Linked DNA regions of Homo sapiens: regions 1, 3, 4, 5, 6 and 7 are each linked to region 2. Evidence: promoter capture Hi-C in 16 types of primary human blood cells and fetal thymus (Javierre and others, 2016). All regions are on one chromosome and are shown on one strand. The core of a region is centred on a gene start or on the middle of the fragment in contact, and the rest is flanking DNA. Distances in the headings are between cores, read along the strand shown.

Region 1 (3,109 bases), core at 5-2,504, 320 kb before region 2:
CTGCAAGGCCTCTCCCTGGCCGGGGCACCTTGAGGTGGCGGTGGCAATAGGCCAAGGCTGGGACCCAGCTGCAAAGGCTGTAGGAGTGGGCCCAGCCTCCCGTGGTGGCCCAGGTCCTGAGGACTGGCACTGAGCCTGGCCCTGCTTCCCCAGGGACACTTAGGGCCACAGAGGCCAGGCCAGGGCCCTACAGGTTCCAGGCTCAGCTGGAGTGGTTGGGGAGTCGCCCAAGGGCACATCCCACCTGCCTGAGCCCCGCCCTCCACCAGCGACTGACAGCGCAGCCCCTCCTGGCACCAACTGCTCCCCTGCCATGGCCACGGCCACAGCAAGTGGGGCACTGGGAAACCCTGCCCATGTCCCTCACCAACAAGGCCTCCAAATCCTCCTCACCCCCACACCACCTACCCCTGTCGCACTGCTCCTGAAAAGGGGGCCAAGTCAATGTTTCAGGTCAGTCTAAAAACCCTAGGGAAGCTGGCCATTTAAAAGAACCCAAACTGACCATGGGTAAATCCAGTTCCCCTAAATAAGGCCTGAAGAAATCCACAGGTACCATTCCCACTTTCCTTCTCCCTAGCTTTCTTAGAGGTTTGGCCACTAAATCTTATGAGACTTGAACCAAGTGGCTTCCTCTTTCTAGGCTTAGGACGGGTTGGGGTTAGAAAGGGTGATCACTGAAGGCCTTGCCTGCTCTGACATTCTGTGACATTAAATGTCTATTCTCCTGTTACCTGTGGCCTGGGACACCAGTGGGGTTTATCGAGGGGACCAGAGGGGCCTCAGGCTTTCAGATGAAATGGCTCCTCCTACTCACCCACTTTATTCCTCTCCATGTAATTCAGGACAAGCTGCAACTTCCCCCAGCTTAACACAATGCCCATACCTCATACGATATGCGCCCTCCCGTTCCATCCCTGGCCCCCTCAAACGAGACTTCTCACAAGGCTGATTACAGATGGTCAAACCTGGCTTCCAAGGACAGAATTGCCTCTCGGAAGCCAGCTGTGGATCTGAGTCCAGAGTTGGCCACTTGTGTGGGTCCTCACAAGCAAAGAGAGCACTAAACTTGACATTGGGGGTCCACCACTCCAACTTTGCTTTCTGAAGGTTTTGGTGTACATTGAGCCCCAGAAGGAAAGGAGAGTATCTGTGAGTGGGGGCCTCCCTTGACCCCAGTACGAAGTCTATGCCCTGAATCCCCAGAGTAGCCCTTCCTGGTGCCCAACTGGCCTGGGGACAAACAGCGTCCACTACATCTAGGACTGCCGGCTAAGTGGACACACTTCTTGACCTCCTACCAGGAACTTTGGTAAAAGCTAGCTTTGGGGAAGGGGTTGGGTGTAAATATGAGAGGGTGGAGGGAGACCAGCTGGTAGCAATAAACATGGGTAGAACTAAATTACCGTCTCCAGTTATCTTTTCTATGGAGAGAGTGTTGTGGGGAGGGGCAGACCGGTCTCCTTCAAAGCTGGCCTCAGCAAAGTGTCCCTCACTGTCCTTTCAGGTCCATCTTTCCCTTCCCTTAAATGTTCAGTGCCCTTGACTCTGCTGACCTAAAGCTCCAGTCTGAAGCCCTAGCTGGCTCTGCCCTCCCCTCTAACCAGCCCTCCTCAGAACAAGGCTCAAGCTCCCATGACCACGGGCTTTGCTGGGGTCCAAGAGGTGTAGGGGGGAATGGCTATTTCCCTCATCCAATAACTGTTCATTTTAACAGGGCCCTTAAAGACCTTCACCCGTGTGAAGAAAGGCCTGCACTGAGGAGCTGTCCAGGATCTAAGAGGGGGAGATTTGGGGTCAGCATGGCCTTTCCTCTGAAGTCACCTTTTCCTGGCCCCCACCCTGTACCCACTAAAGCAGTGCCATCTCCTGGGAGGTAGGATGGAGATGAAGACCTCTAGCTTCCTTTCTGTTTCTGCCAGAATTAACTGCATTGGGCATTGGGAAGGGGGTTACTGGAGAGAGAGCTGCCACCAGAGTGAGGACGAGGCCACTTGACTTCCAGGCCTTGTTCTCAGTTGCATTCATCCCACCACCCTTAGTGACTGGGGGTGCCAGGAAACTGCAAGCATGATCCTCACCAAAGATATAAGAGCCCTAACAGCCTCAAAGCCCCAAGGGTACTGAATAATTGCAGTCATTTAAGGAGCACCTCCACTTGTGCCAGGCACTGAGCACTTTACATATAGCATCTCCTGTAATCCTCACAGTGTCCCCCTGAGGTGGGTGCCCTCATCATCCCAGTTTACAGAGGAGGAAACTGAGGGTTGGGGAGGTTGAAGAAGTTGACTAGAAAGTAACAGAGCAGGAGTCTTCCTGACTGCAGAACCCATGTTCTTAACTCCTATGCTACAATGCTTCTCCAAAGGCCTCATCCAACAAGCATTCAAAAGTCCTGGGCACTTTGGAGGGCAAGCTGACTCTCTGACCCAGCCATTTCCCTTCTAGAATTTAATCAGCCACATAAGTGCAGAAACAGCCACATAAGTGCACAAATACCTATGGACAAAGATATCTACAACAGCTCTGTCTGTAATAGTAAAAAATTGAAAACAATGCAAATGGGGAATTAAATGCTTTATGGTTTGTTCATATACCACGCAGCCATGACACATGATGTTGTAGAAAAATATTTAATAACATGAGGAAAATCTTTGTGTTTTTTTATTCTTTGATTCTATTTATTTTTCTAGAGACAGGGTTTCGCTCTGTTGCCCAGGCTGGAGTGATGTGGCACAATCATAGCTCACTGCAGCCTCGAATTCCCAGGTTCAGGTGATCCTCCCACCTCAGTTTCCTGAGTTAGCTGGGACTAGAGGCATGCGCCACCACACCCAGCTAATTTTTGTTTAGTTTTTGTAGAGATGAAGTGTAGTTATGTTGCCCAGTTGCCCAGGCTGGTCTCAAACTCCTGGGCTCAAGCAATCCGCCCGCCTCAGCCTCCCAAAGTGCTGGGATTACAGGCGTGAGCTACCACACCCAGCCTTCAATTTCAAATTTGAAAATTACACAAATAATGTATAAACATTTTAGTTGTAAAATAAATTTGTGTTATAGCAAGGGGAAAAGCAAATCCTAAAACATTATTAATAGGATGATTCCATTTTTA
Region 2 (3,134 bases), core at 299-2,798:
AGAGCTCCCCCTACGCTGCTCCTGTACTGGATGCACTGAATCTGAATTAATGGTTGAGAAAGCACTTTATAACCAGGAAAACCCAGTGTAACTAACTGCAAGGAAGGACTGGCATTCTTGCTGGGCATATGTGTTCCCCGGGCATTTTCAGTGCCAAAGTCTCCCCAAAGGGAAGAGCTAGAACTGTTCCCTTCACCCACCTCCAACCTGGCACTCGGGCCAGGGGTCAGCTGGCAGGGGGTGAGTCCCCAATGGGCGTGCCCACCAGCTGTTGGGGCTGAGCAGTGGTGGTTCAGGCCCTGGGGTGGTGACCTCACTTCCGCTCCTACCTCCCCACCTCCCCAGCACTCCTCCCATTTGAGGCCCCACCAGGCCAAAATCGAGAAGTCCAAGGTTAACTGTTCTTTCCCACTTTAAGAGCTAATTAAAATAATTAGCCACAATGAACTGTCAAACATTAACCAGAAGAGGCTGCAGGACCAGACAGGCCTCTATCACAGGCCGAGGGATGAGGGGCAGGAATCAAATGGCCATCAAATCCCTCAGCTGGGGTATGGTGCGGGGCGGGGGCGGCCCAGGAGGACCTCGCTGAGCCGAGGTGCCAAGGGGTCAGGAGGTGACTCTGGTCAGGAAGGTGATGTGCAGGCATACGGTGGTGAGAAAAGGGAGTCAGGGTTAGGGTGCGGTGGAGGAGCCAGGAATTCATAAAGCGGTCACCGCCTCAGCAGTCCCTCAAGCCTCCAAAGCAAGGCGCTGGCGTGAGGGGACCCCGCACGGTGCGGCTGCTGAATCCCCTAGGCGGCGGCCCAGGAGGGAACCCGGAGGCGGGAGAGTCGGGGAGAGCGGGAACGCGGGAGCGGGAAGGCTGGCGGCTGGCTCACACGGAAACTCCGGCCCCTGCCAAGAGGTCTCTATTTTGGCGATCCAGTTCTCCACATCATAGGTCTGCGTGCGCGTGTGTGCGTGTGACCCTAAAGCCCTGGCCCCAGAAGCCCCGGGGGCAGTCGGATCCATCTAGCAGCTCCGCCGCGGTCCGCCCCACCTCCTCTGCCCTCGGGCGCCCAGCTTCTGGGGGCCCGCTGTCATGATCGGCCCCGTCACGGAACCCAGGCTGCCGGGGGCGAGGGAAAACAGGGGCCCCTACCCCGACTCCCCGACTCGGGGAATCCATTCCACTTCCATCCCGGGATCGGGAGCCCGGGTTCTCCATCACACGCGCGGCGGGGCGACTCCAGGGCGGCTCGCGACACTCCGCGACTCTCCCGCCCTTCCCTGGGCCCCCAGCCCCACGCCGGGGCCCCGGCGCTCTCGATTCCGCCCTCAAGCAAACTTTTCCACGTCCCCCAAGGCTCGAAGAACCGGCGCCATCGACGTACCTGAGGCCGAGTGGCTCACGGGCCCAGCTCGGTCGCCGGGCCGGGGTCTGTCTCCGTGGTCCCCGCTCCGGGGGCCGAGACGCGGGTCCCCAGCCCCGCCAGCCCGTCCTCTCCCCTCGGAAGCCGGGCCGGGCGAGCGGCGCCAGGAACTCGGCGCCGGCGAAAGGAGAAGTGGAAGTTGAGCGCGGCGCCCGGTCGGTCCCCGCGGCCGCCGGGGCCGCCGTCCCCCGCCCTCCTCCCCGCCCGCCCTTCTTCCCCGCCCGCCTGCCCCCGCCACCCCGCGCCCGTGACTCACCTCGGCGCCGGGGCAGGCTGGTCCGGGCGGGCGAGGCGCAGGGCTCTCCCACACTTCGCGCCGCCAATGGCAAGTTGGAGGGAGAGATGCAAATACCAGGTGAGACGGCGGCGCCCCTGATAAAACGGGGCGGGGGGCGGGGTGGAGCGCGCGGGGAGCGGGGCGGACGCCGGGGAGGGCCGGGCCAAGACACGGGGCGGCAGGGGCGCCCGGGGAGGGGGCGCGAACCGGCGCAGACATGCACCGAAACGAGCGAGCGAAAGGGGAAATGCAGTAGAGACACACACGTCCCCGCAGGCGGCGGATGGGGCGGGCGCGAAGGAGGCAGGGCGGGAGGGAGGGAAGAGCCGGAGGGAGGGACCGACGGGAGGGACTGCGGGCGGGCGGGGTGGGGGAGGGAACGAGGGAGGGACGAGGCATCTCGGTGGAAACAGCGCCCGTCCGCCCCGGCCCGCCCGCCGCGGTCGCCAGCACGGCATGGGGAGCCGTGCCAGGGGCCCGCGCGGCCTCTCATTCCCCTCGCGGCTCGCTCGCGCCCGGGGGACCACGAGGCAGGGCGCCCGCAGAGCCCGCGTCGTGCGCCGCGGCCCGGGCGGGCGCTCCCCACTCTGCTTCTAGCCAGCGAGACTCCGAGCTCTCTGCTCGTTCCGCGCCCTTCCCGGTGCGAAGCCCCCATACAACGCCCCGCAGAGAAATCCCTTCCCCGCGGACTCGGGAAGGTTTCGTCCAGCCCCCTCGGCCCGTGCAAGTGGAGACTTGCTTGACGCCTTTGGGCCAAGCCCTGCGCTCCACATTATTGAGCTCCTGGGGTGTGCAGGCCCCAGCGGGAGGGCGGGCCGTGCGGCGGGTGAGGCCGCGAGATGCCCAGAGGATACAATTTTGGAACCATATGCCCGACTCCGCAGAATCCTGGGCGTAACACCTGGGGTGACTGGAGAGTTTCGGCGACTTCTTAGGGAAGTCGAGTCTAGGACTCCTGCGGGAAGTTGGGGTGGGGGACGCTGGCAAGATATGAGTCAGGGGAAGGGCTAGGGGGAGAGGGGCTGGCCCAGCAAGTGCAAAGAGAGCCAGAGTTCGGGTGCTGGAAGAAAGCCCATGCCTACCTTTCTTCCCCTGTCCAAAGCCAGGCTGCTCTGCTCCACGCGCCCACTTGAAAGCCACTCAGGCACGCTCCCCTTCTATCTCCCCTTTGCCCTCTCTGACCTGCCTCAACATCAATACCGCCGCCTACGTGGGTCTGCTGATAGGAGGCTCTGGAGAGAGTGCGCTGGGAATTGTTACTCTGTATAGTTCCACGTGGCCTTTTTGGGGGTGGGGGCAGCAAGGCCTAAGCCTTGGCAGAAAGCATCAAGACTGAAGGAGCCCCAGGGGATGGGGCCTTCTAAAGGGCTTGAGGTTGAAGGACCTACTCAGCCTCCAGCATCGGCCTGCTTCTCCTGCCTTGGGAAAGGATCATCTCAGGC
Region 3 (3,099 bases), core at 263-2,762, 420 kb before region 2:
AGAACAGGACCCAGGTCAGGTGTCATGGGCAGACCCATAAAGGGCCCAATCACTAGAGCATTTGACCTGCCTCTTCCCCCCAGGCTTGGCTACCTGTGGTGATTAATGCTCTGAGGCCTCTGACATCTGAGCAATGGACACAAGGCTAGAGCCTAATCCCACCTACATTTGATCAAAATGGTAGGCCTTGTGGGTTTGTTCCGGAGGTGAGAAAGCATTAAATATTCCACTGGAAAGACACAATGGAGAGATTGCGTAAGTAGACGGTTCTTTGGGCAGAAGAAGATGGATGGATCTGAAGTGGGAAGTGCCAGAAGAACCCTTTCTCTAACCAGGAGGGGCCTCTGGTATCCTTGCAGCTTTTAGCTCTCAGTGTGATCAGTAGACTGTCTGCTTGACTTACCCAAACTCCCACTTCCCCTCCTGTCAGGTATTTGCTTGGGGGCTATTCATCTCCTCTGTGTTCACCTTCCATTCAGCTGAAAAAGAGGAAGAGGATTTCCCAGCTCTGTCTTCATCCATGCATTTTTTTTTTTTGAGACAGAGTCTTGCTTTGTTGCCCCGGCTGGAGTGCAGTAGCACGATCTCGGCTCACTGCAACCTCCACCTCCCAGGTTCAAGAGATTCTCCTCCATTTCACCATGTTGGCCTCAGGTGGTCCTCCCGCCTTGGCCTGCCAAAGTGGTGGGATTACAGGTGTGAGCCACCGTGCCCAGCCCTTATTGGAGTTTTTTTTGTTTGGTTTTTGTTTTTGTTTTTTGTTTTTTGTTTTGTTTTGTTTGAGACGGAGTCTCGCTCTGTCACCCGGGCTGGAGTGCAGTGGTGCCATCTCAGCTCACTGCAAGCTCCGCCTCCCGGGTTCACGCCATTCTTCTGCCTCAGCCTCTCGAGTAGCTGGGACTACAGGTGCCCACCACTGCGCCCGGCTAGTTTTTTGTATTTTTAGTAGAGACGGGGTTTCACTGTGGTCTCGATCTCCTGACCTCGTGATCTGCCCGCCTCAGCCTCCCAAAGTGCTGGGATTACAGGCATGCCTTATTGGAGTTTTATGAGCATATTCTGTGATGTTGAATGTCTAGTCTATAAATGATTGCCTAGAGAAGACAGGGGGCTTAAGGAACCTTTGAACGCCCCCACTGGTTTTGGAGAGGTGGTGAGACTTTTGGACTCAAATAATGGCTACTGTGATGTTAACTGTGTTTATTGATTTACAGAAGCTACGAATGGTGCAGTGTACAAATCACCCCGAACCTTGGTGGCTTAAGACATCAGCAATCATGTTATTACCTCTCATGGTTTCTGTGGGTAAGGAACTCAGGAAGGGCTCAGGTGGTAGTCCTGGCTCCAGGTCCCTCATCAGGTTGTAATCAGGGAGTGACTGGAGCTAAAACAGTATGGGGTGAGGAGAATGGGGCTGGAGCAGCTGGGGACAGGCCAGACACCTCTCACTTCATGTGGTCTCGGAGATCTTCACATGATCTCTCCATGTGAGTCGGTTTGGGCTTCCTCACAGCATGGTAGCAGTCAAACCAATCACAGGGTGGCTCATGGCTTCAAGTGTGATTATTCCAGCAAGCAAAGTGGAAGCTGTATCCTCTTCTACGACCTCGCCTTGGAAGTCATCTAGCTTCACTTCTGCCATAGTCACAAAGCTGCCCAGCTTCAGGGAGAAGGAACATAGACCCTACATCTCAATGGGGGAGTGTCAAAGTCATACTGTAATACGCTCATGCGGAACAGACGATACTGTCACAGCAATTGTGGGAAAATACTCCCTACTACACCAATCCTACTTCCTGCTCTTCCCTCAGCTGAACCTCAGACAAGCCTTTTGCTTTCTTGCTTGCAGCTGTCAGCTGGTCCCTCACTCTGGGTGCCCTTCTCTCCTCTCCAGTGCCTTCAGGCCCCAATTGGAGTCCCACCTCTTAAAGTTTCCCTAACGGCTTCCATAAGCACAACAAGCAGCAGTTTTCCCTTATTCATAGCAAGCAGACACTTACATGTTTGATAGGCCAAAGAGTTGCTCCACATTTGGTCAGGGCCAATCTGACCAGTGGGTAGGTTTCCACATCTGGGCCCTAATACCTGGCCAGGTGGAACATCTAGATTCTGAAACATCCTCCTCATTCTTCCAGGGTCTCAGAACCTCAGGGTGACATAGCTTCTGGCCATAAATGCTAGGACAGAGCTATGTTCATTGTGCAATGTCTCTTCCAAGGTAGGCACATGGGCAGATGAGGCTCTGTGCAGAAGGCCTTGGCAGTCAGATGAGAGGTGGCAGTAAAATGTGTTGGCAAGAGCCTTTGGCTGGGAATCAGGAAGCCAGGGTCCCCGAACCAGCTTTCTGGCTAATTTGATGCATTCATGATCTGAGACAAACCTCCCAATCTCCAGTTGACCTCAGTTTCCCTACCTCTGCAGTATAAAACCTAGAGCTTGTCCTTCCTACCTGTGTGGTGAGCAGACAAGAAGAGAGACAGGGCTGGGCATGGTGACTCACGCCTGTAATCCCAGCACTTTGGGAGGCCAAGGTGGGTGGATTACCTGAGGTCAGGAGTTCAAGACCAGCCTAGCCAACATGGCGAAACCCTTCCCTACAAAAAAAATACAAAAATTAGCTGGGCGCGGTGGCAGATGCCTGTAATCCCAGCTACTTGGGAGGCTGAGGCAGGAGAATCACTGGAACCCGGGAAGCAGAGATTGCAGTGAGCCGAGATTGCACCATTGCACTCCAGTCTATGAGACAGAGCAGGACTCCGTCTAAAAAAAGAAAAAAGAAGAGAGACAGGAAGAACTTCTCAAGAGTAGAACATGCTAATAATTCTTGTACTGTATTTGTTTCTTCTCTCAGCCGCCACTTCCTCTCTAGCATGTAGGCTCCAAGGTAGTGGGTGAGTCCGTAGGCGCATGATTATGGAACAGGGATGGGCCAACAGCCTTTCCCTATACACATACAGTAGGATTCAGGCAGGGGGGTTTGGCAATGTGGCCATTCCCCAGTTGCTGAAGGGCTTACCCTGGGTGGATTTGGTGAGGCTGAGCAAATGGTTAGGCACAGAGCTAACAATTCCACCCTACTCTGCTCCAACACACACCCCC
Region 4 (3,396 bases), core at 13-2,512, 470 kb before region 2:
GCCTAGTGTTGTTACCATGGAAACTCCAGTAAGGTCGATCAGTCCGGGAAGTTCCCAGAGGAGATAGGCACTGGGAGATCTGCCCAGCAGTGCCTACTCTGAGGGTCTCCCAGCTGACAGTGACCTGCTCTGCATACACTGACAGTAGTTTAGGATCTTTTCCGGAGCGAGCTAACAGTCCATGTGACAGGAAAGAATTTGGCCCTGCAGACTGGCAGGTCTATGCCTCGTTACCATGGAAATGCTGCTTGTCAGGATCTCAAAGCACAGTGCAAAACTAACTCTTCCAGGAGACTGAGGCTGGCAGGAAAGGAGGCTGTGAGCCTGTTCTTCATTCACATGCCCATTCATTCATTCATTCGTTCATTCAGTATTTAGTGCACGCTCATTAATACAGTGGGCACTGCGTATGTCCGAGGCTCTAACTGGAGCAAACAGGTGGGCTCACCAACTCTCTTCAATTGAAAAGTATATTGAGGTGGAGGGGACCATCTTACTTCCTGTGTCAACCTCCACTGGAGGAAAAGGAGTTGACATGCCCAAAGGAATGGAATCGGGGGGTCTCTGTGTGTCGAGGGGTACAGGGAGAATACTTGCTTTCTGTAGCCTCCTGTTTTTCACCTATCCCCTGCTTAAGCCTTCAGGAAACAGATCTTTGTGTGGTCTGGATCACCAAAGGCTTGGCCAGACATGCTAGAAGTTTCCAGCAGCCACAGCTAAGTGAAGTTAGAACAGGCTACGTTGGGAAGCAATGAGCTCCCCATCACTGGAGATGTACAAGCAGAGGCAAAAAATCCTGCTCAGTGAGGGCCATGTAGAGCCCGCAGAGCACAATGATTCAGAGCTCAGATTCTGGAGCCAGATAGCCAGTCTTCAAATCTTGGCTCAGTTTACCAGCTGTGTGACTTTGGGCAATTCACTTAATCATACTGAGCCTTGATTTCCTCATTTGTAAATGGGAATGATAAGAGTTTCTTCCTCATGGGCTTGTTGTGGGGATGAAATGCGTATAATATATAAAGCACTTAGAACAGTACCTAACATATAATTGCTCAAGAAATGGTAGCTTGTATTATCCCTTGATGGCCCAACTAAAGTCCCTGACAAGCTTGGGATTCTATATGACTATGGGTCACTAATCTTCCTGCACACGGAAAATCAGAAAGGGACTCTGGCAAGGGTAAGATTCTGTGCTGACCAGAGAGCTGGCTGAGGGTAGCACCTCTGAGCTTTGAGCTCATCACCACTTGCGTGCTTCCAGCAATAGTTTTCCTTTCCAAGTACTTTTGGATCCATGTCTCAATTGGGCCTAAAGACAACAGCAAAGGGCACAGTTACCATCCCCTGTGATAGATAATGGGAAGTAAAGCTAAGAGCGGGAGAGTGGCTCACCTACCAAGTGGCACAACTGGGATGGAAGCTTTCTCTCTGTCACACCACCTCACAGTCCCCAGGGCCGCCATAAGGGGAGGACAGCAGTTGGGAAGGAGCAAGTCATGGGCTGGGCGGAGGAGGAGCCCAGCATGACAATAACCTATGAAAATCAGCTTTCCACTGTCTGCACTTCTGCAAGGAGGAGTTGAGGCCAAAGCCAGGGAGCAGAAGGGGGTATTTCCTAGAAATGCGGCGGGAGTGGCTGGTGTGCTCCACCCATGGGCAAAGGACAAGGCTCGGCCTGCGTGTGAGCACTCACTTGGAGCTGAACTTGGAGCCTCCAGAGCTCCCATCCCTCTGAGCTCACTCAGAAAGCTTTCCCTTTGGGCAAAGTCCAAGGGGGTCATTCAACTGTGATCTGACACTTCTGCTTTCAACTTAATAGCTCAAGTATTTAACGGATGGCTCATGGCCTCACCAAGGGATTTTGCTTGCCGAGACTAGCAAGGTGGGCTAGTGTTTTCATGCCATTTGGAGGAGCAATGAGAAAGGATTGTTTAAAAAAAAAAAAAACTTTGCCTGAGAACAAGAGTAACGCCCTAACTCATGGCCTCATGAAGCTCCAGGTTAAAATGCACACGTTACCTGGGAGTATGGGAATTGGACAGGGGCAATAGTGAAAAATCTTTAATAGCCAGCAAGGTCTGGACACCAACTGATTAGAATGTTTGCTGGCCAGAAACACGCTATAGGGATGCACCAGCCCAGATAGAGGAAAACAGCAGCCCTGGATGTGGGCCTTGGCAGGGGCCGGGTGAAGGGAGGGTTTGCTCCCTGAGAGGTCCCATGAGCACACGCAGGAATCAGATCTGCCTATGGCCACCAGAAGGTATGAGATTTCCCACAGCAGCTGGTGGTGGGGGGGTGGGCAGGGTTGGTGTATCTGGTAGGGGGAAAACTGGTGGGAACATGGGGTTCACTGAGGGAAGAGCTCCTTGGGACAGCTCGAGGGCCAGACAGCCTAGGACAGTCCTGTAAGGATGCAAATGGGGCCTGGCCTGGCCTTGGAGACCCAGATGCTGCCCTCTGCCCTCACAGACTTCACCCCTGGTGCCTCTGGGTGGCAACTTCTCTCCCTCTCTCAGTGAACATGCATACGGACTATAATATGCTACACAGCGTGGAGCAAATATGCATACCCATTCGGTGTTCACACAAGCACATGCATGGAGCCCACGTATGCCCATGACCTGTAGAGGCATCCTCTCAAGTCAGTGGGGCACACCCACAAAATTGTTCAGACTCAGAATCTTGGAGCAGAAGCAATTTTAGAGCTGCCCCCATTAAAAAAGTCGTCTTTGATGAACGCCAGTCAGCCACTCCTCTACACACACTTTGGCGTTTGCTCGTTCTCACACCTCCTGCAGAACAGGAAAGAGGAGATGACCTCGGGAACTTTCTTAAAATGGCCTGTGCCTAGACTTGACGCAAGCCTGAAGAAGTCCCTGCAGTTCCAGGACTCAGCCAGCAGGGGGCAGCCTCTCATGACACACTGGGTTTCCCCCAAAGAATAAGCAGGCTTGGAGAAGAAAGAGAGGCCGACTGCAAAGAAAGGGAAACATATAAGAAGTTTCCAGAGTGTCCGGCCATCAAGCTGACCCAGATGCATGTAGCCAGCCACTCCTGTGGGTGAGGAATTCTCAGCCCCTCATATTCAGCTGGTGAATTGATAGAGTCTGGGGCAAGTTATCAGAAGAGGATGTCTTAGTGACCATAGTACATCCTGCTTGCCCAGCCTAGAGCCACAGAGGGAATCAGCCAGCACACAGGAGTTCAGTGGAATCTCTCATTCTGCAAGTCACAGCCTCTCTCAGGGCCTGCTTCGTTGTCTGTGAAATGGGTTTAACAATAAATCACATCTGCTTCCTCCCACCTTGGTGCTTTGGACACAAGCCCTGTGCTCCCTCTGCTGAGACCTCCTTTCTCCAGCTTAACCCCTACTCACTCCTGAGGTGTCAGCTC
Region 5 (3,106 bases), core at 322-2,821, 340 kb before region 2:
CTCATGGCTCGTCACAGCCAGGAGGGGGAGGTGCTCCCCAAACCCCAAGCCAGCTAGCCTTTGCCCAGAGGCCGGCCCATCTCTTCACTTCCTTGTTTCTTTGTGAAACAGGAACTGAGCAAGCAGCTTAAGTCGGGTAGGATGGGTGGTTGAGAAAGCCCCAGTGGTCCGTGGCAAGTCCACGAAGCTGAAAAGCTGGTTTCTCTCCCAGCGGGTCCCAGGCAGCTTCAGGCCCTCTTGTTTGTCACACCTCTTGTGTTCTAGAACAACTTGGGGTGAGGGATGCACTCTTGACAAGGTGGAGACATAGGATATGGGCCACAGGGTCACGTAGCAGAGATTCAGATGCGGACCTCAAGAGACATAGAAGCAGGTGCCAGGCCGGGCATGGTGGCTCACGCCTATAATCCCAGCTCTTTAGGAGGCCAAGGTGGGTGGATCACCTGAGGTCAGGGGTTCGAGACCAGCCTGGTTTGGCAACATGGTCGGCAACATGGTGAAACCCTGTCTCTACTAAAAATACAAAAAATTAGCTGGGTGTGGTGGCAGGCGCCTGTAATCCCAGCTACTCGGGAGGCTGAGACAGGAGAATCTGGGAGGCGAAGGCTGCAGTGAGCCGAGATCTTGCCACTGCACTCCAGCCTGGGCCACAGAGTGAGACTCTGTCTCAAAAAAAAAAAAAAGAAGAAGAAGAAGATTCCAAGGGGACACTAAGGGAGAAAGCGGCAGCTCCTAACGGTCACCAAGGCCTTCCTGGATTTAGCAAGGGGAGAAACTCCAGGTGGAGTCTGAAGTGAACTGATGTGGAGTCACTCACCAGGTACCCAGCACTTTCCACTAGCTGGGGCACTGGGCTGAGAGCACTCCCTCTATGCATGTCACCTGAGTAGTAACCCTAGTCACACACACCCACAAGAAAGGCCCACATTATCACTGTTACCATCTTCACTAAGGCTCATTGCAGGTGAGGTCACTTGCCCAAGGTTATGCAGCCAGTAGGTGACCATACAACAATCTGAATCCAATCAGGACAACCTGACTCCATTTCTGAGAGGTGTTCTGTTCCTCCTCTTCCCTGGAGCCCTGGACAATTGTCCCCATGGGGGAGGGGCCCACTGATCAGAGAGGTTTGTCCTTGTAACCTTGGGACAGAGATTTATGCAGAGTAGCCCAGCCCCTACTTGTCCCCCATAGAAAGTGCACCCCCCCACCAGTGAGTCATGAGTGTGTTTTAATCTGAGCACCAAAGTCCAGCCTCCTCTTCTGATGGTAATTGACAGAGCTACCAGCAGGTGTTTTTTGTTTTGTTTTGTTTTAAAACCAAGACCTTATCACGAGTTCAGAGTTCCAAAGATCACTGTCTTTCCCTCCCCTCCCATCAGCCCCTGCCACCAGATGCCCACTCTGTGTGTGTTGTATGTGGGCATGAGGAATGGGCGCAAGAGTCACCTGCCCTTGTCTCCTTGCTTTCCTCTGCCCGCCTTCTCCCTCCTGCAATTTTGCTCTTTCTGCCCTCCCTGCCTAAAATGACCACCATTAAATTTGCTAATGGGCCGGGCTACTAAAGTGGGCTTCACCTTGGAAATGTCCAGGTATTTTCAAGAAACTATGTGGCCTCTGCTTGGATATTTCTTTTTCTTTTCTTTTTTTCTTTCTTTTTTTTTTTTTGGTTGTTTTGTTTTGTTTTGTTTTGTTTTGTTTGAGACAGAGTTTCACTCTTGTTGCCCAGCCTGGAGTGCAGTGGCGTGATCTTGGCTCACAGCAACCTCCACCTCTCAGGTTCAAGCGATTCTCCTGCCTCAGCCTCCCAAGTAGCTGGGATTACAGGCATGTGCCACCATGCCCGCCTAATTTTTGTATTTTTAGTAGAGACGGGTTTCACCATGTTAGTCAGGCGGGTCTCAAACTCCTGACCTCTGGTGATCCACTCACCTGGGCTTCCCAAAGTGCTGAGATTACAGGTGTCAGCCACCGTGCCCGGCCTACTTGAATATTTCAAGAGATGGGGAGATCATTACTTACCAGAGCTGAACTAGTGCCATCTGAATAGCCAAAATTTGTTCCTTGGAATATACTAAAACCTTCCATTTATCTGTTCCCCATCATTCATACCACTTGCTTCCCCACCCCAATCACCTAGGCTAAATGTGACAGGAGTTTAGTACTTCACACGTTGACGACTTCCCTATACTTCACCCCCGCTTAATCGACCCTAGCTATTGCAGCTTTGCAGATGTGATGCGACTTCCAGATGTCCTCCCCATCCTGTTCACTCCCCTCTGGGCCTGCTTCAAGGTGGCTCTGTGGCACCTAGTGTGGCACCCAAACCAGCATCAGGTGCCAAGAGAAGGCTGCAAGCCGAGGGCTCCATAATTCTCTCACCTCCCCGTTCAGGAACTCCGCATCAGAGGCACTTCAGCTGAGTGGTTAGTTGTGTGGGCCCTGGCCAAGACCAGACCTGCATTTAACGCTGGGCTCCACTGCTTACTAGCTGTGTGGGCAATTCACTTAACTCCTCTGGGCCTCAGCTTCCTCCCTGGAAAATGGGGATAACAATAGTGCCTGACTTACCAGGTTGTTGTAAAGCCCACTGCCTGCCATGAAGTATAATAATTTTCAGCTAGATGTGGGGACTGGGGGGAATGGAAATAAGAATCTTTGGGGGCCGGGTGCAGTGGCTTACACCTGTAATTGCAGCACTTTGGGAGGTAGAGGCAGGAGGATCACTTGAGGCCAGGAGTTCAAGATCAGCCTGGACAACATAGGCAAAAAAAAAAAAAAAAAATTAGCCAGGAATGGTGGCACGTGCCTGTAGTCCCAACTACCCGGGAGGCTGAGGTGGGAGGATCATGAGCCCCAGGAGTTTGAAGCTGCAGCGAGCTGTGACCACACCACTGCATTCCAGCCTGGGCAACAGAGGGAGACCCTGTCTCAAATTAATTAATTAATTAATTAATTAATTAATTAAAACTTAAAGAATCTTTTGGGAGGTTTTTCCAGATATAAGTATCTCTCACTATCCAAACTCTTACTATCTCAAATTAGAAATATATCCATTCAGAGAGTGAGAGATGCTTTTGTACATGGTCTGGATCTTACCTGCCCC
Region 6 (3,088 bases), core at 318-2,817, 450 kb before region 2:
TATTCATGGGTTCACTTTCCCATTCTGGGTGTGAGACCATTTAAATCAGAGACATGATGTTCATTATGTGAAACTTAGCCTGGAACTTATTCTGTGAATCAAAAGATCCTAATAATCATTTTGAGGGAATAATCTCTTTGTTGGACTTTGCTGGGGTTTCTTCTTCAGCTAACTGTGTGATTCTTGTCTTGATGTCCAATACCTCTTAATTCTGATCACCAGCTAGGTCCTAAGCCTGGCCACAGACCGAGATCTTGTCTTTCACACTTGCCCTCTTCCCAAGCACACAGAGTCAAATACTAACCATCACACGGTATCAGGTTTGCAAAAATTAGAGAAGTAGCCATTTTGCAGCATAACCACATTATCTCTATTCACATCTCAAGTGTTTAATACTATATTCAAGTCACTACATGCTAATTCCTTCCATGGGACACCTTTCAGCCACTGCCACATGGGCTCCAACTGCCCTGGAAATGCTTATTCCATTTCTCTGTTTCTTCCAACTTCTTTGCAAACTACATACCTTCTCAGATCGTCTGATATATTCAAGGAACACCAGGGGTTCCCACAGATACGCCTTCCTTGACACAACACCCAAGTTCCTGAAAAATGTTGTCAGTGGAATTCAGATAATCAGCTATATTTCAAATGTCTTTGAAGGGTTCACAGTTTATTAGCTGAATAAGTCCTAAGAGAGATTCTCTGAGGTGAAGAACTGTTCCTCTGTTCCTGCCCCCAGCCCAGCCCAGCTCCACAGAATTACCCCCTTTTCCCTACATCCTGCTTCATTCCTTCTGATCCTCTCCCATAGCCACACAGGTCCCCATTCCTCCTGTTTGTCTTTCAGAGCAGTTTCATTTCCTCTGCATATCCTCTATGACGTCTCCCAGGAGCCTCCATCCTTCCTCTCCCCTACGGTCTATAAATACCCTGGTCTCCCAGGGGAGGCATGTGAATTCCTTCCTTACGCAGCAAGGCCCTGTGAGTTAGGATAGCCACTCCCAAAGGAGCAGGTTTATCTCCAAAGTCCATTGAACCTTTCTTCCTCTTGCTTTGCTGGTTAATATTATCTGGGCTTATATCATGTAAGATATTATATGTCTCAAATCTGGCACCTTTGTTTGCAGAGCCAGGGCAAAGACTGTTGAGGACACGGTATTGAGTCTATGACCAGTTCCGTTATGGGCTTAGAGTTCTGGGATAATAAGGTCAAAGTCAGAGAGATAATGAGGTCAGCTTTGTTCTATCCCAAACTCAAGTTTGGATTGACACCAGTCACTACCTGAATCCTAACCATGGCCACAGACTGAGATCTTTTGAGGTTCTTACTTTTTGACTTTCATACATTTCCCATACACATAAAGAGAGAGTCAAATATTGTACTAAAATTTAAAAGGTAACACTTCTGGAGAAAAAAGAAAGAAAACTAGCCATCTTACAGCAAAACTCCATGTGTTAATTTCTCAGGGCTGCTATGACAGATTACCACAAACTTCGTGGCTTAAAACAACAGTTTATTTCTTCTCACTTCTGGAAGCCAGAAATCTGAAATCAAGAAAGCTCTAGGGTGAGAAGTTTATGATAAATTAGTGAAGTGATAGATGTGTAAATTAGTTTGATTGAATCTTTCTACAATGTATGCATAGATCAAAACCTCACATTGTACCCTATAAACATGCACAATTATCATTTGTCAATTAAAAATAAATAAAGATAAAATGAAAGTGTAAGGGAGGATTCTTCCTTGCCTCTTTCATCCCCTGGTGGCTCCAGGCATTCTTTGACTTAGGGCTGCATCCCTCCAATCTCTGCCTCCATCTTCATCTTCACATGACCTGACCCTTTTGTCTATGTGATATCCTTCTGCCTCTCTAGGGTCTCACTCTGTTGCCCAGGCTGGAGTGCAGTGGTGTGATCATAGCTCACCATAACCTAGAACTCCTGGCCTCAAGCAATCCCCCTGGCTCAGCCTCTTCAGTAGCTGTAGCTACAAGCACCACCACAACCAGCTGATTTTTTATTTTTTATTTTTTTTGTAAAGACGGGTCTTGCCGTGTTACCCAGGCTGTTCTCAAACTCCTGGCCTCAAGTGATCCTCCCACTTTGACCTCCCAAAGTGCTTGGATTATAGGCGTGGCTGCCTCACTCTTATAAAGATTGTCAGCAATGGATTTAGGGCCCACTTGGATAATCCAGTATGTCTCTCTTGAGATCCTTAAACTTCTTACACCTGCAAAGACCATTTTTAAATGAGGTGTCAAATTTACAGGTTCCAGGGGTTAGGACATAGACATATCTTTTCGGGGGCTACTGTTCAACCCATTACACCCCACTACCTCCATTTACATTTCTGGCATGCTGGAATCAACACAGCATGAACTTTCTGCCAATTTAACCTCCAAATATCTGTCAAATCTACACGTCTCTATGTTTCTGCTGCCCTATTCTTGTTCCAGCCCTGTCATTCCTCACACATCATTCTCCATAGCAACCAGAATGGTTATGCCAGTTGGCTTGAAAACCTTCTGTGGCTCATGGCTCTTAGGACAAGACCAAACTCTTAACCATGGCATGCAAGGCCCTGCATAATCTAGCCCCTACCCACTTCGCCAGCCTCTTCTCTTGCCTCTTATCCTCTTTCTATCTGCAATGCCATGTCCCTCCTGTCACAGTGCCTTCCCAATACTTTTTCCTCCTACTGAATGATTCTCTGCTCTACCCTGTCTTCTCCTGGCTAATGCCTATCATCAATCAGCTCATCTCTAATGTCAAATCACTCCTCCTCAAGAGATGTTTTCCTTGGCCCTCAGACTGGCTGAAATTCCCCTGTAATCGCTTCTCATAGTTCACAATTCAGTTTGTGTTCAGTTAATGTCTGGCTCACCCCATCCACCCCTCACTGTCCAACTAGACTGAACTCCATAAGGGCAGGGGCCATGGCTGTCTGGTTTCATGACTGTGTCCTCAGCATCTAGCCAGTGTCTAACTCATAGTAGGTGTTCAATCATTTTCCCAATCAATGCATATATGAATGAATGAATGAATAGGTCTGAACATCTGTGCTTTGCTCCCTCAAGTTCTTCTA
Region 7 (3,057 bases), core at 100-2,599, 490 kb before region 2:
GAGGGCATTTCCAGTAGTCCAGCTTGAGGCCCTAGTATATGTGAGACCTGAGGCATTGGCCTGGCTTGCCCTAGATGTTCCTCTTCTTTTTGAGCCTGCTTGTGTTTGTCGGCTATTGGGTGAGGCTTGGCACAAGCAGTTGGGCCCAAGGGCACCCACTCATCCCTCCTGGGCTTGGAAAGCTGCTGTGCTGAAATGACCCCACCCCCATGCCCCTCCTGGGGACAGGGGACAGTCAAAGAGCCACTAGAGGCTCCCAAAACTCTCAAAGGGGCAAACCCTCTCCCCAGAACCTTATCAGTTTCCTGGTGCAGGCACTGCTGAGGACCTCAGCTGTTGTCTGTCCTTCTGGGTTTCTATGTTTAGTGTGAAGGCAGCCCTGGCACAGGCCTTCCTTCCCCTTCCAATCCGCAACAGCCTGTGCTCTGCATTGCAGCGTCACTTCCCTGCTGGAGGTTGCAATGTTTGCACCAAAAAGATGGCTTTCAAAGCCCAAGGTGTGTGTGCGGGGGGAGGGGTATGTGCACACACACAATGGAAGGGGGGCTGTATCTCAGACCCTCACATTTCATGGATTCATATGTCTTTTGCTCTGAGCATAAGGCTATTGAAGTCACAGTCATGGATTCCTGTTCTTTCGTTTATTCAACATTACAGCATGGGGTTACCAGCCTGACTACTAGCATCACATTGACTTGACCTTGAATATTAGCCCAACCATCTGCTTGCCATACGACCTTAGACAAGCTACCTGTAACCTCTCTGAGTGTTATTCTCATCTGTAAAATGGGACTCAAATGCAGTACCTTCCTTGTAAGGTTGTCAAGATTAAATGAGATCATCTTTGAAAGGCATTCAGCACCATGCCTGGCACACAGTAGGTGTCTCATAAATGACAGCTGCTATTACTATTAATTAGCCAGGGCTTACTGCACACCCATTGTGTGCCAGGCACAGTGCTAGGTGCTGGCAGAGTTAGCAAGAGGAACTCAAAGATGAGTGAGACAAGGCCCAGCTTGGCTCCATTCCTCACCCACATGTGGCTGCCCCAAGGCAGTCACCTCATCCAAGGGACCTTGCAGCTGAGTGTGCAAGCACCTGGGCCCTGGCGTGGGACCCAGTGGGGTTCAGGCCAGGGAGTGTCACCAGATGGGTGCAACACCCATACCCTTACCCTCACAAATGCCCCCCGCCCCACGCTGCCAGAATGTCACCTGAGTGCTGAGTGCCGGGCCTGCCCCACAGGGCATTGGGACGGAGGGCTCAGCACCAAGGCAAGGAGCTGCTCTGTGGGCTGGTCTGGACACAGTGGAGATCTGGGTCAGCGTTTTTCTGAGTGAATTCTTTTTTTTTTTTTTTTGAGTCGGAGTCTCCCCCTGTTACCCAGGCTGGAGTGCAGTGGTGCCATCTTGGCTCACTGAAGCCTCTGCCTCCTGGGTTCAAGCTATTCTCCTGCCTCAGCCTTCCGTGTTCAAGCGATTCTCCTGCCTCAGCCTCCCGAGTAGCTGGGATTACAGGCATGTGCCACCACGCCCGGTTAATTTTTGTATTTTTAGTAGAGACAGGGTTTCGCCATGTTGGCCAGGCTGGTCTTGAACTCCTGACCTCAGGTGATCTGCTGGCCTCGGCCTCCCAAAGTGCTGGGATTACAGGCATGAGCCACGGTGCCCAGCCTTGGGTCAGTGTTCTTCTGTTTACCCTCTTCAGTGTCTCAGCGGTTGGCAAGGCATCATCACTCTCTACCTTTTCTTGGGAAGTGGATTCCCCTCCCTGTCAGAGACTCTTCCTATTATTTTGGGGCCCCTTTCTCTTTCACACTCATTCACACACTCCCCAATCTATGTCCTCAGTCACTACTAGCCTTAGTGGTCAGTGGATCCCCATGGCGAAGGGGAAGCTCATTGGATCATAGCAATATAGCTCACTCGCCCACAGGGCGTGGCCCACTGGAAGAAGAGGAGAGGACAGGACAGGACTTGGCCTCTGCCTTGCCTGATGGATTGTGTTATCTCATGCAGGAGGGAGTGGGGAAACCCATGTGGCATTCGATACACAGCCCAGTGCTAAACTATGCAGTCTGAGCTCTATGCTGTCTAAGAAGAGGGCAAGGGCAGTGAGGGCCATAGCAAGGAAGGGAGACTTGAGCTGAATCTCAAAGGAGAAGAAGGATTGGGATGGGGTGGCAGACTCCAACCTGGGTCCAGGGGGATGTGCTCAGCTGTCTGATGGCTGGAAGCAGAGACCCATGTGCCATGAGGAGTGAAGATGTCCATTAGGCCCAGGTGAGAGGTGGAGCATGCGAAGTGGGGGTCAGGGCTGGGGGCAGAAGAAAGGCATAGAGGAACCATTGGCCAGAAGGTTGCAGAGGCCATAGGGGTAGCCTTTTTCCTCCAACTCCCATTCTATTCTCTTTTTAGCCTTTATTTTCCGCACCATTCCCCTCCTCTACTCTCTTTCCCTTTTTTGGGGTCTCTTTGTCACCCTCCTCCCTTTTTTCTGAGTCTCAGTTATTTTATCTGCAAGATAAATGTGCTCATCCTGGAAGCTGGTGATGTTGCCTCTCCTGCTTTTCATTCCAATTCTGAGATCTCATTCAGCAAGAACTGCTGTCTTAGGGCTGCTCTCCCAGGACTGGGCCCTGTTGGCTCCTGTGGATATACATCCACCAGCAGAAAAGCCTGAGGGTCCAGGCCTTGGGATCTGTGCCACTGCTTGCTGGGGGTTGCGGGACAAGCCTGTTTTGCTTCTCACTCAGGCTGAAGACAGGTGAGGATGCCAAGTCCAGAAATTGCTTTGCTTCCAGCATCAAATGGCTTCCTCTCAGCAGCACAGTCCCTTTAAGATGGCGGGGGGCGGGGAAGCTAGAAGAAGACCTTTGATGTTGTTCAACTGAGAAATCCATCAGGTGGGAACAAGCCCGGAAATGCCAGAGTGAAGGGCTCCGTGGTTGGCTGCATTGGTGGGTCTACTGCCTGGACTTTGTTTTCTGATGGTAAACGTTCCCTGACATAAACACAGGCAGAGCAGGGAATAACAACATTCAGTCCCCAAACAAAC

What was found. Contacts are between HindIII fragments. The CHiCAGO score rates a contact against its expected background, and 5 or more counts as called.
Region 1: a fragment that was not itself captured here is called in contact with the fragment with the promoter of ELF4 in region 2 in 2 of 17 cell types (activated CD4 T cells and neutrophils); the score reaches 5.6 in activated CD4 T cells.
Region 3: a fragment that was not itself captured here is called in contact with the fragment with the promoter of ELF4 in region 2 in 2 of 17 cell types (activated CD4 T cells and total CD4 T cells); the score reaches 6.7 in activated CD4 T cells.
Region 4: a contact is called between a fragment that was not itself captured here and the fragment with the promoter of ELF4 in region 2, in 7 of 17 cell types (neutrophils, naive CD4 T cells, activated CD4 T cells and 4 more). The highest score is 8.9, in neutrophils.
Region 5: a fragment that was not itself captured here is called in contact with the fragment with the promoter of ELF4 in region 2 in 8 of 17 cell types (total CD8 T cells, non-activated CD4 T cells, monocytes and 5 more); the score reaches 8.7 in total CD8 T cells.
Region 6: a fragment that was not itself captured here is called in contact with the fragment with the promoter of ELF4 in region 2 in 2 of 17 cell types (total CD4 T cells and naive CD4 T cells); the score reaches 6.9 in total CD4 T cells.
Region 7: a contact is called between a fragment that was not itself captured here and the fragment with the promoter of ELF4 in region 2, in 11 of 17 cell types (neutrophils, total CD4 T cells, activated CD4 T cells and 8 more). The highest score is 12.2, in neutrophils.

What each region holds. Positions count from the first base shown.
Region 1 is chrX:129,793,800-129,796,908 of GRCh38, forward strand. It overlaps SASH3 (SAM and SH3 domain containing 3), which reads left to right. Exons shown (of 8, transcript NM_018990.4): 8 at 1-1,402. The coding sequence ends at 33. Among named protein-coding and RNA genes, the nearest start is that of SASH3, 15 kb to the left of the region's middle. The HindIII fragment of the contact is 5,726 bases long and covers 1-3,109 here.
Region 2 is chrX:130,108,949-130,112,082 of GRCh38, forward strand. ELF4 (E74 like ETS transcription factor 4) reads right to left here and starts at 1,549. Exons shown (of 9, transcript NM_001421.4): 1 at 1,377-1,549. It also overlaps a transcript of RAB33A not described here. RefSeq lists silencers at 1,431-1,500, 1,581-1,730, 1,981-2,030, 2,041-2,090, 2,161-2,280. The HindIII fragment of the contact is 7,600 bases long and covers 1-3,134 here.
Region 3 is chrX:129,687,074-129,690,172 of GRCh38, forward strand. No RefSeq gene overlaps it. Among named protein-coding and RNA genes, the nearest start is that of APLN, 34 kb to the left of the region's middle. The HindIII fragment of the contact is 3,434 bases long and covers 1-3,099 here.
Region 4 is chrX:129,634,789-129,638,184 of GRCh38, forward strand. No RefSeq gene overlaps it. Among named protein-coding and RNA genes, the nearest start is that of APLN, 18 kb to the right of the region's middle. RefSeq lists a silencer at 2,814-2,983. The HindIII fragment of the contact is 312 bases long and covers 1,107-1,418 here.
Region 5 is chrX:129,772,998-129,776,103 of GRCh38, forward strand. No RefSeq gene overlaps it. Among named protein-coding and RNA genes, the nearest start is that of SASH3, 5.4 kb to the right of the region's middle. RefSeq lists enhancers at 151-450, 2,444-2,493. The HindIII fragment of the contact is 4,423 bases long and covers 1-3,106 here.
Region 6 is chrX:129,662,437-129,665,524 of GRCh38, forward strand. No RefSeq gene overlaps it. Among named protein-coding and RNA genes, the nearest start is that of APLN, 9.0 kb to the left of the region's middle. The HindIII fragment of the contact is 3,664 bases long and covers 1-3,088 here.
Region 7 is chrX:129,614,682-129,617,738 of GRCh38, forward strand. No RefSeq gene overlaps it. Among named protein-coding and RNA genes, the nearest start is that of APLN, 39 kb to the right of the region's middle. The HindIII fragment of the contact is 7,528 bases long and covers 1-3,057 here.